Linked DNA regions of Homo sapiens: region 2 is linked to region 1. The links are contacts of gene promoters, found by promoter capture Hi-C in blood cells and fetal thymus (Javierre and others, 2016). All regions are on one chromosome and are shown on one strand. Each heading gives the region's core, a stretch centred on a gene start or on the middle of the fragment in contact. The rest is flanking DNA. Distances are from core to core; before and after follow the strand shown. Region 1 holds the start of ACSM1 (acyl-CoA synthetase medium chain family member 1). Region 2 overlaps PDILT (protein disulfide isomerase like, testis expressed).

Region 1 (4,525 bases), core at 804-3,303:
TTATGTATCTATCGTCTATCTATCTACCTATTACCTATTTTCTATCTATCTATCATCTATCTATCTATCTATCTATCTAGATATATAAGAACCTGATCTCCAAGTGTTGAGGACTGAAAATCAGATATCTATATGTCTATGTCTGCGTCTATCTCTATCTCTGTATGTATGTTAAGCTTCATTTCTAAATCTATTTCTGTATCTATATACCAATATTTACATTTATACCTATATCACTATCTGTGTATATCTATACATTAATATTAATGTCTATAACAATAACACATGTACACTGTAGTCATGTGCCACAATATGATGTCATTGTCAGTGATGGATCACATATACAGAGTGGCCCATACAATTATAATGACATATTTCTACTGTACCTTTTCTATGTTTCAATACACAAGTACTTACCATCGTGTCATGACTGCCTACAGTATTTAATACAGCAACAAGCTACATAGGTTTGTAGCCTAGAAGCAATGGGCTATAGCATATCGCCTATATGTGTAGAAGACTATGCTTTGTGGGTTTGTGTAAGTACACTCTATGAGTTCCCATAATAACAAAATCACCTAACAATGCATTTCTCAGACGTATCTTGGTTGTTAAGTGATGCATGTCTCTATCTCTATCACTATCTCTGTCTCTATCTCTATCTCCGTCTCTGTCTCTGTTTCGATATCTATTTCCATCCACATCTGTCTTCAGATTTGACTTCACAAAGCTTAGTTTGTCTATTTCTCACCGTGCTGGACATAGTAAGTGCTCAACAAAAAGTTAGATTCTTCCCTTCTTTGTCATAATTCAGAAAACTGAGTGATGAAAGTCAGAAAGAGAAAAGCCAGTGTGCCCACAAATTATCTGAGTTATAGAAAAATGTATTTTTTCTTTCTCAAGTATTTACTATAGATGTACCATGTACAGTTTTAGATACTATTGGAGATTAATTAAACTGAAAGAGTTCCTACCCTGTTAGAGCATATCATTAAAGCACATCCTATGAAATCATTTTAAAGAACAATTTTCTGAACTGCTTAAAGTGCATTCTGAAAGCAATTTGACATGGTAGCTTTGAGAGGCAGCTGGGCTCCCCACTGTATTCCCAGATACATAGTGCCTTGAACAGCTCCTGCAACTAAGCTTTGACTTCACAGGACTTGGGACTGATAAAGCTATTTAATGAAGCAACATACTTACTGTGTTATAGGGTATCCCAGAGTTACAGAGCCAGGGCTAGATGTTTGTCTCTGTTGTCTAGCAGCTGGGTCTTTGGTGCTGTTCATGTCTCTGAACTTAAGCGCACAGTAGTAATACCTTCTTCCCAGCTCCCCATAAGGATTAGTGTGATAATTTACTTGCTGGCACTGAATGAAGTGCACGGTAAGGACTCAATAAATGTTGAGGTACCTTTTAACTCCCAGCAAATTCTGAAGCCAACCCCCTCCCCATTAGATGTTAACCATTTTTTTTGAAACTGTCACCTGGACTGGAGTGCAGTGGTGTGATCATAGCTCACTGCAGCCTCAATCTCCTGGGCTACAGTCATCCTCCTGCCTCAGCCTTTCAAGTACCTGGGACCACAGGCATGTATTACTATGCTTGGATAATTTTTTTTAGAAGGCATTCACTTTATAGAAAGTGAGCCAACTTCTGCATAGATAGAAAAGATTTCCTTCAAACATTCATCTCTGACTTTGTGCCTGTCTCCCACGGCTCACCACATTCAGAGCTGCCTGACACTAAACCAGTCCCCATTTACATGCCAGCCACTGTGCTAAACATATTACATGTACGTTCCTATTTATTCCTCTCACCCAATATCACCATTGTCATTTTGCCTCTAAAATGAAGTGCCAAGAAGTTAAGTGACTTGCCCAAGGTCACTCAACTTAAAAGTAGCATTGCCAGAACTTAAAATTGGATTACACACACACACACACACACACACACACACACACACACACACACACACAGATAGAAGCTGACCTTCACCTCTGTCTTACCTGGTACTGTTTAGGACGTAGCTGAACTAGGTCCCTGGTAGGTATGGAAAAGGAGGTTGAGCTCTCTTTTGTAGGTTCAGTTCTCTCTGATCAGGTGATCCGCAGGATTGTGCACCCAGCAGAACTTGGCTTCTGGCCACAGCGAAGGGGGACCTTGAACAGAGAACTTGTTAGGAATTGGGTAATTCAGTAGGGGGAGGAGATGCTCAGGTAAAATAGGACAGAAACAATTACAGGCCTCCACGGAGAGATAATCACTTAGAAAACAAACCATGTGGGCCGGGCGCAGTGGCTCGCGCCTGTAATCCCAGCACATTGGGAGGCCGAGGCGGGCGGATCACGAGGTCAGGAGATGGAGACCATCCTGGCTAACACGGTGAAACCCCGTCTCTACTAAAAATACAAAAAATTAGCCGGGTGTGGTGGTGGGCGCCTGTAGTCCCAGCTACTCGGGAGGCTGAGGCAGGAGAATGGCGTGAACACGGGAGGCGGAGCTTGCAGTGAGCCGAGATCATGCCACTGCACTCCAGCCTGGGAGACAGAGACTCTGTCTCAAAAAAAAAAAAAAAAAGAAAAACAAACCACGTATACGAAGTCACCTCCAATTCCGGTGGCATGGCTAGGGGTGTGAATGAACTAGATCCAATGGTGCATTTTCACTAGTTCTCTGTGGCTAACCTGCTCCCCCTTCCCAGCCCTACATCACCATAGTCTCCCTTAAATGACAGCTGAGAGTCAGTGTAGCCTAATGGATAAGAGCCTGGGCTCTGGAGGTCTGGAGGCAGAAAGGTCTGAGTTTGAGCCTTAGGTCTGCCACTTAACCTCCATGTCATCTTTGTGGACCTTCTTGCTCTGGGCCTCACCTCCCTTAATTGGTTTTCGGTTGCTTTTGAGACAGAATCTCATGCTGTCACCCAGGCTGGAATGCAATGGCATGGTCTTGGCTCACTGCAACCTCCGCCTCCCAGGTTTAATTGAGTCTCTTGCCTCAGCCTCCCAAGTAGCTGGGATTATAGGTGCCCGCCACCACACCCAGTTAATTTTTGTATTTTTAATAGAGACAGGGTTTCATCATGTTGGCCAGGGTGGTCTTGAGCTCTTGACCTCAGGTGATCTGCCCGCCTCAGCCTCCTAAAGTGCTGGGATTACAGGCATGAGCCACAGCACCCAACACCTACCTTATTTGTAAAATAGGAATGATAACAACAATACCTACCTCCCAGGGTGTTTTCTTTGCTTCTTCATTTGTTTGTTAGAACTAGATGAAATAATTTATAAAAAGCATGTAGCACACGGTGCTGGGCATAGTCGATGTTGGCTCTTTTTATTCACTTGGGATTCTCAGAGGAACAATTTGGTATCCTGGTAAAATGCAGGGTCTTTGGAATCCCAAAGTCTTGAGCTTAATTAAGTCCAACCTCAGGCACTCACAAGAAAGCTCTTGGGTGAACCATTTTCCTTTCAAAGCTTGGTCTTGACATTTGTAAAATGAAGCAGGATTTGTTAATAAGATTTGTTGCATGGGATCATTGAAAGGATTATGTGACACCAAGCCTGTAAAGCACCTGGACCAGGCATTTAGATGGAGGGTTGATAGTGATATTGCATTGGATAAACCAAGGTAGTCATAGGTAGCGGCTTGTACTATGACTTTTCTACTGGAGCCATTTTTGGGGCATTGTTAGAGAATGAGGGATCTCCAGTATTTTCATTGAAGCTGGGAAGAAATTATTTCTGATCAAAGTCATGGCTAAAGATTTCTGGAGACACCCAGGACATTCCTGACAGGACCGTGTGGCAAGCTAGGATAGTTTGGGTTTTTAATATTTAGCTTTCTGTGGCCAGTCACTGGAGAGGTGAGAAGGCAGGGCTAGTTGACTGGCCATGGTAAGCTAAACCTTAAACACCCAAAGCATCAAAGTACCAAAAAACAAAGAAACGAACAAACAAAACAACTAACCAAAAAACCTCTGTTACTAAAGAGAAGGAGCAGCCACTTTTCGGAAAAGAATGGAGACGGGGGAAAAGCCCTTGACACACTCTCTGCATCTGAGTAGTTCTCCCCTGTGGAACTGCAACATGAAGGCATGGACAAGAAGACAGGCTCTGGCACCAGGCAGCCTGGGCTTGAGTCTAGCTTTTACCAGTTACCAGCTCTGTGACATTGAGCAGATTTCTTATCCCTCTTTTCCTCAATTTTCTCATCTTTAACAAGAGGTATACAGCGGACAAAGGAAAACTCTCCAAACATTCTATGTGTGCTCCTCTTTCATTTCCCAACCTCTCTTAAAGCTAAAGTGAGGCCATTAAACTCTAGTTCTGAACAATAAACTCCATGTGGAAGTGTTACAAGTCACTTCTGGCCTAGGGCATTTATTTAAGAGCAGGTATGAGTTTTCTGTACTCTCTTCCCCTGATTCAATGCTCCTGGAAACCATATATGGAGATAGTGACATCGTAAAATGGCAAAGTCTCTATCAGCCTTGTTCTCTGAGTGACTTCATGTAGCTAAATAT
Region 2 (4,848 bases), core at 1,293-3,792, 310 kb before region 1:
GTGGGCTGTAGATAGGCAGAGGCCAAGGGTGCCCATGGACCCAACTTCTCTCAGGCCCTAGCTCATTGTCTGCCATATACTAGATGCTCAATGAATGTGAATTCCTTAGGCTATCTCATCAAAAAGAGGCAGTTATGGTGGTTTACTTTCCTTGTGGCCCAGGAAAGTTGTTTTTATTTTTTTAAGTCTCTGTGACTCAGTTTCCTCATTCATAAAAAGTGGGGTTATTAATAGATCCTACGTCTCAGAGTGATCCTACAAAATAAGACAAGGTGTGCAAAACTTTGGTACAAATAAACATTAGCTATTTTGATGACATAGGTGGAGACTCTTTGGTCTTGCTCTGACCAGATTCTCTCTGGGAAGGGAGGGTCCCATGGCAATGTCAGGAACCCCAAAGATCTTCCGGCTACTGATGAAAGGGAACAACAGTGACCATCACCAAACCATCCACCACAAGTTCTAGGCCTATTATGGAGCTCTCACATGGGTTTCAGGGTAAGCACACGGGACTCAGGGCCATGTTAGAATAGGCAATGGCTCCCTGACTGTCTGCTTGGTGTGTAGATGTGTTAATGGCTGATGGACCTAGAATTAACGTTTGCCTGGTCTTTAGTAGAAAACCCCAGGTTTCCTTCTCTGAGCAGTGAATGTGAGTCAGAGGAGGGGCTGATGGGTGATGGGGAGGTGATGAGTATAGGGACTGGAGTTTGATCCCAGCACAAGGAAGTTGAGTCTGCCTTTCTTTAGACCAGTGGTTCTCAATGTCGGACGTTTTGCAAGGTCTGGAGGCATTTTTGGTTGTCACAGTTGGAAAAAGAGATGCTACTGGCATTTAGTGGGTAGAGGCCAGGGATACTGCTAAACATTCTACAATGCTCAGGACAGCCCCCAGCCCCACAAGCAAAGAATTATCTAGTCAAATGTCCGTAGGGCTTAGGATAAGAAACCCTACTTTAGATCCAACTTCTGATCAAGCATGAAAAAAATATTCTGAGAATAACCCTCTGCCCATTCCATAGGGCCATGTACAGTATACAGAGGTACTCACAGCTGATAGGGACTTCAGGATTGTCATCAATCTCTTCTTGTTTCTCAGGGGCCAGCCACCAATTTGTTTTGACCATTGCAATGGCCTTTAAGTTTTTAAAAGATCTGTACCTCCCTATTTTTCTGGCCTCATTTCTTAGTCCTCTTCTCTTCAGAAACCCTATATCTTTAGCCAAATGGGCACAATCTCCCTCACCCCAGGGTATTTTTACTCTCTGTTCCTTCTGCCCTAAATCTGCATGGATCACTGCCTCACCACCTTAAGATCTTTGCTAAAGTGTTACCTTTCCAGGGAGGCTGTCCCTGGCCATCCTATTTAATACTACAGCCCCATCTCCATCCACCCCATGCATTCCCTATCACTCTTGTGTATTTTTCTCCATAGTACTTTTAACCGTAGGAAATACTATATATTTTACTTATTTTTCTTTTGTCTTCTCTCACTAGGATGTCAGTTCCAGGAGGGCAAGGATGATCACCTGTTTTGTTCACCACTATATCCTCAGTGCCTACAATATATCTGGGAAATAACCGTATTCAATAAATACTGAAGGAATGAAGTTTCCAATGATCAGCACAGTGCAAGAAGATGAATTTAGCACCAGTTTTGGTGTCAAGCTTGGTCTCAAATCCAGTCTTCACCACTTACCAGTTGTGTGACCTTGGGCAAATGATCTAACCTTTCTGACACCTACGTGCTTCATATACAAGATGGGGACAAGGTTTTCAAGTGCCGTGCCTGAAACACAGGTGCTTGATAAATGGCCTTTGTTATCATCACCATTGTTGTCATTATCATCACCATAACCATCATCACCAGCACCATCATCACCACTGTCATCACCATCACCATAACAATCATCGTCACCAGCACCATCATCACCATTGTCATTATCATCAGCATAGTTAATAATCATTATTACCAGTACCATCATTGCCATTGTCATCATCACCATCATAACAATTATCACCAGCACCATCATCGCCATTGTCATCATCATCACCATAGTTAATAATCATGATCACCAGTACCATCATCACCATTGTCATCATCATCATAATCGTCATCACCAGCACCATCATCGAAATTGTCATCATCACCATAGTTAATCATCATCATCATTAGCACCATCATCGCCATTGTCATCATCACCACTATAATTAATAATCATTACCATCACCATCATCACCATTGTCATCATCATCATCATCTTCATCATTATTCCATCCACATTACCGTCTCCACATCATGCTCACCATCATCATCTAACCTACTCCTAGGACAGAATCTTGTCACCTCTGCCTTAGGGACAAGTGATAAAGGACCCTAGACAGCTCCTAATCTTATCTTGACCTCTCTCCACTAATGGTAGTGAGTCCTTCTCTCCTTGATTCATTCAAGTTAATGTGGATGGAGAAAATTATGGGCCAAAGGAAATCTCATTCATTCATCTATTCATTCATTTAACATCTATGGAAGCCTACCATGCTCCAAGCACAATGCTGAATGTTAGGAATCAGGAGATGAATAAGATTTGGCCCCCAACATCATGCAATGTACACGATGAAAAGCAGTTTTGATACCATATAGCGAATGCTGAGAGAGAGAGGTTAAAAAGAAGGCAGTGGGAGCATAGGAAGGCCTCCCAGCCAGACTAAGTGGGAGTGAAGGTGGGTACAGCCTACCAATGAGGGGCATAAACTTCACAATCCAGGTGAAGGAGTGTAGGAAGGATACTATGGAAGCTGCAAGTGCAAAGGCCCAGAGGCTGTAGCTGTGGGCTAGATCAAGCAGAAGACCTTAGCTACTGAATGACCTGATCAGATTTGCATTTTAGAGGAAGTCTCTCTGGATGCATTGCAGGACAGCATTGGAGAAGGCAGGGAGACCATCTCAGAGGCTGCTGCAGTGGTTCAGGTGAGGAATAATGAGGCCTGAACCAAGGCAGTGGTGGTGGGATGGGGAGAACAGAGATTGCAAAGGGATTTAGAAAGTGGCATCCACAGGACGTGGTGATGGATTACATGTGAGAGTAGAAGAATCAAGAACAACCTTGAGGTTTCTGACTTTGATACTGAGTGGATGGTGGTACTTTCAGTGAAGGCAGGACATAAGGAGCAGCAGATTGTTGGGACCAAATCAAAGATGCTGAGGTCTGTCGTGGACATGTGGCAATGTCCACATGTGGACAATGTGGGACTGCAAAGAACATTGAGAGGAAAGCTCCCCCAACCACTGGCTCTTGGCCTGGAGTTCTCAGAGAGAAGAGAAAGCTGGTCACCCATTAAGGATCTGAGACTGGGGTGGTCCCTGGGGGCAGTGTCTGAAAATAATCTCTTTTGCAAAGAGCCCATTTACCCTTGAAGAAAGCTTTCATAGTGCTTTCCCCAAGTGATTTGTTTTTCCAAAGGCCACTTTAGAAGGCCGGCTAGTTTTTTTAAGAACTCATTTTGAATTTAATTATGTATTGGCAGGAATCAAAGATGCAAATGTAATGAGATTAATTGAGTGTCCCTTTTAGATAAGAAAATTTCTGCTGTTGTTGAGTTCACTGCTTTGAAATACCTGCTAGTGGAAAGGCTTTAGGTTTAAAGTATGCATGTTGGTTGTGTCAAATGCAATTCAAGAATGTGAAATTGATTGGTTCCCTCTGTAGCCTCAGATTTAGTGTCAGTTCTTAAGTCATAAGAATTAAAGAACCATGAACTCACCCTTCTGCCCTGGTTAAAACAGAGCAGAGCCTTCTATTCTCATGTGGACTGGACAGGTTTCCCAGCCTTATCCATCCACTGCACCATTTTTGGAAGGGGAATGTGTTGAGGTGTGTTATGTGTTTGTGTAAATGTATGGCTCTAAGCCTTTTAACACCTCCATTGAGGGTCTCAGATTAGAAATTAGGGCTGCAGCAAAAGAGATGGTTTGGATGTTTTATCTATGTAAACCATTAGTTTACCAATTCCACAGCAAGTGGAGTGAGACTGCAAGTTTCTCTGCTCCTCCCTGTAAAAGTCACCATGAAATAGATGCACAAGTGCTGGCCTGAATTCTAGTGTGGATGAGGGATGTGCAGAACTAGCTGGAGGAGTCTTTCAGCAAAGTGGAAATGCCTGCCGTGCTCACAGGCTCATGTAAAGAAAATGGCCTAGGCTGGATTTCTCTTACAAGGTATTGCTCGAAGGGCTTTGAAGTAAAATCAAGCTGGCATCCTGAAGAACAGCCTGAGTTAGAGGGAGGTCACAAGCTTGGAACTACATTGATGAAACTTCAAGCAACACGCATGTTCAATATTGGATGGAGGCAAAAATGACCCAATTGGACATTCCTTGTGGGAACTATAAATGTTAACGGTAGAAAAAGAAGGTGATTCATGCTTCTATGAAGTGGCAGCATAACCTAGCAGGGGAGGCACCAGGACTCAGGGGGGCTGAGTTGTTGATGCTCCCATATCCCCAAATTTCCTCATTTAAGTGGCACCACTCACAGAGTATACCTCAAATGAGAAGGACAAGGATTGAGGAAGGAGCTTTGGAAGACCGAATTTCTGGCAGGGGACATAGACTCAAATGTCATGGGGGTAAAGCAGAGAGTGTGACAGTGTGAGGTTGGCTGGATAGGAATATGGCAAATTGATAAGCATGTTCTCTGACCACAAGGAAAAATCACAACTCAGCTTCAGCCAATTGTCACCTTGCAGGACTGTGGGCCAGAGCTTCCAGGTCTTCTGATTTTTTGAAGAGCTGATGCACATTCAGTTTTAACTGTGACATGTTTCATTTCTTTTAAACACTGCATGGGCC

The links. Contacts are between HindIII fragments. The CHiCAGO score rates a contact against its expected background, and 5 or more counts as called.
Region 2: a fragment that was not itself captured here is called in contact with the fragment with the promoter of ACSM1 in region 1 in 3 of 17 cell types (M1 macrophages, endothelial precursors and naive B cells); the score reaches 6.0 in M1 macrophages.

Annotation. Positions count from the first base shown.
Region 1 is chr16:20,695,627-20,700,151 of GRCh38, forward strand. ACSM1 (acyl-CoA synthetase medium chain family member 1) reads right to left here and starts at 2,054. Exons shown (of 14, transcript NM_001318890.3): 1 at 2,010-2,054. It also overlaps a transcript of ACSM3 not described here. The HindIII fragment of the contact is 2,330 bases long and covers 1,145-3,474 here.
Region 2 is chr16:20,389,111-20,393,958 of GRCh38, forward strand. The region is part of intron 2 of PDILT (protein disulfide isomerase like, testis expressed); the gene reads right to left. Among named protein-coding and RNA genes, the nearest start is that of PDILT, 13 kb to the right of the region's middle. The HindIII fragment of the contact is 1,753 bases long and covers 1,667-3,419 here.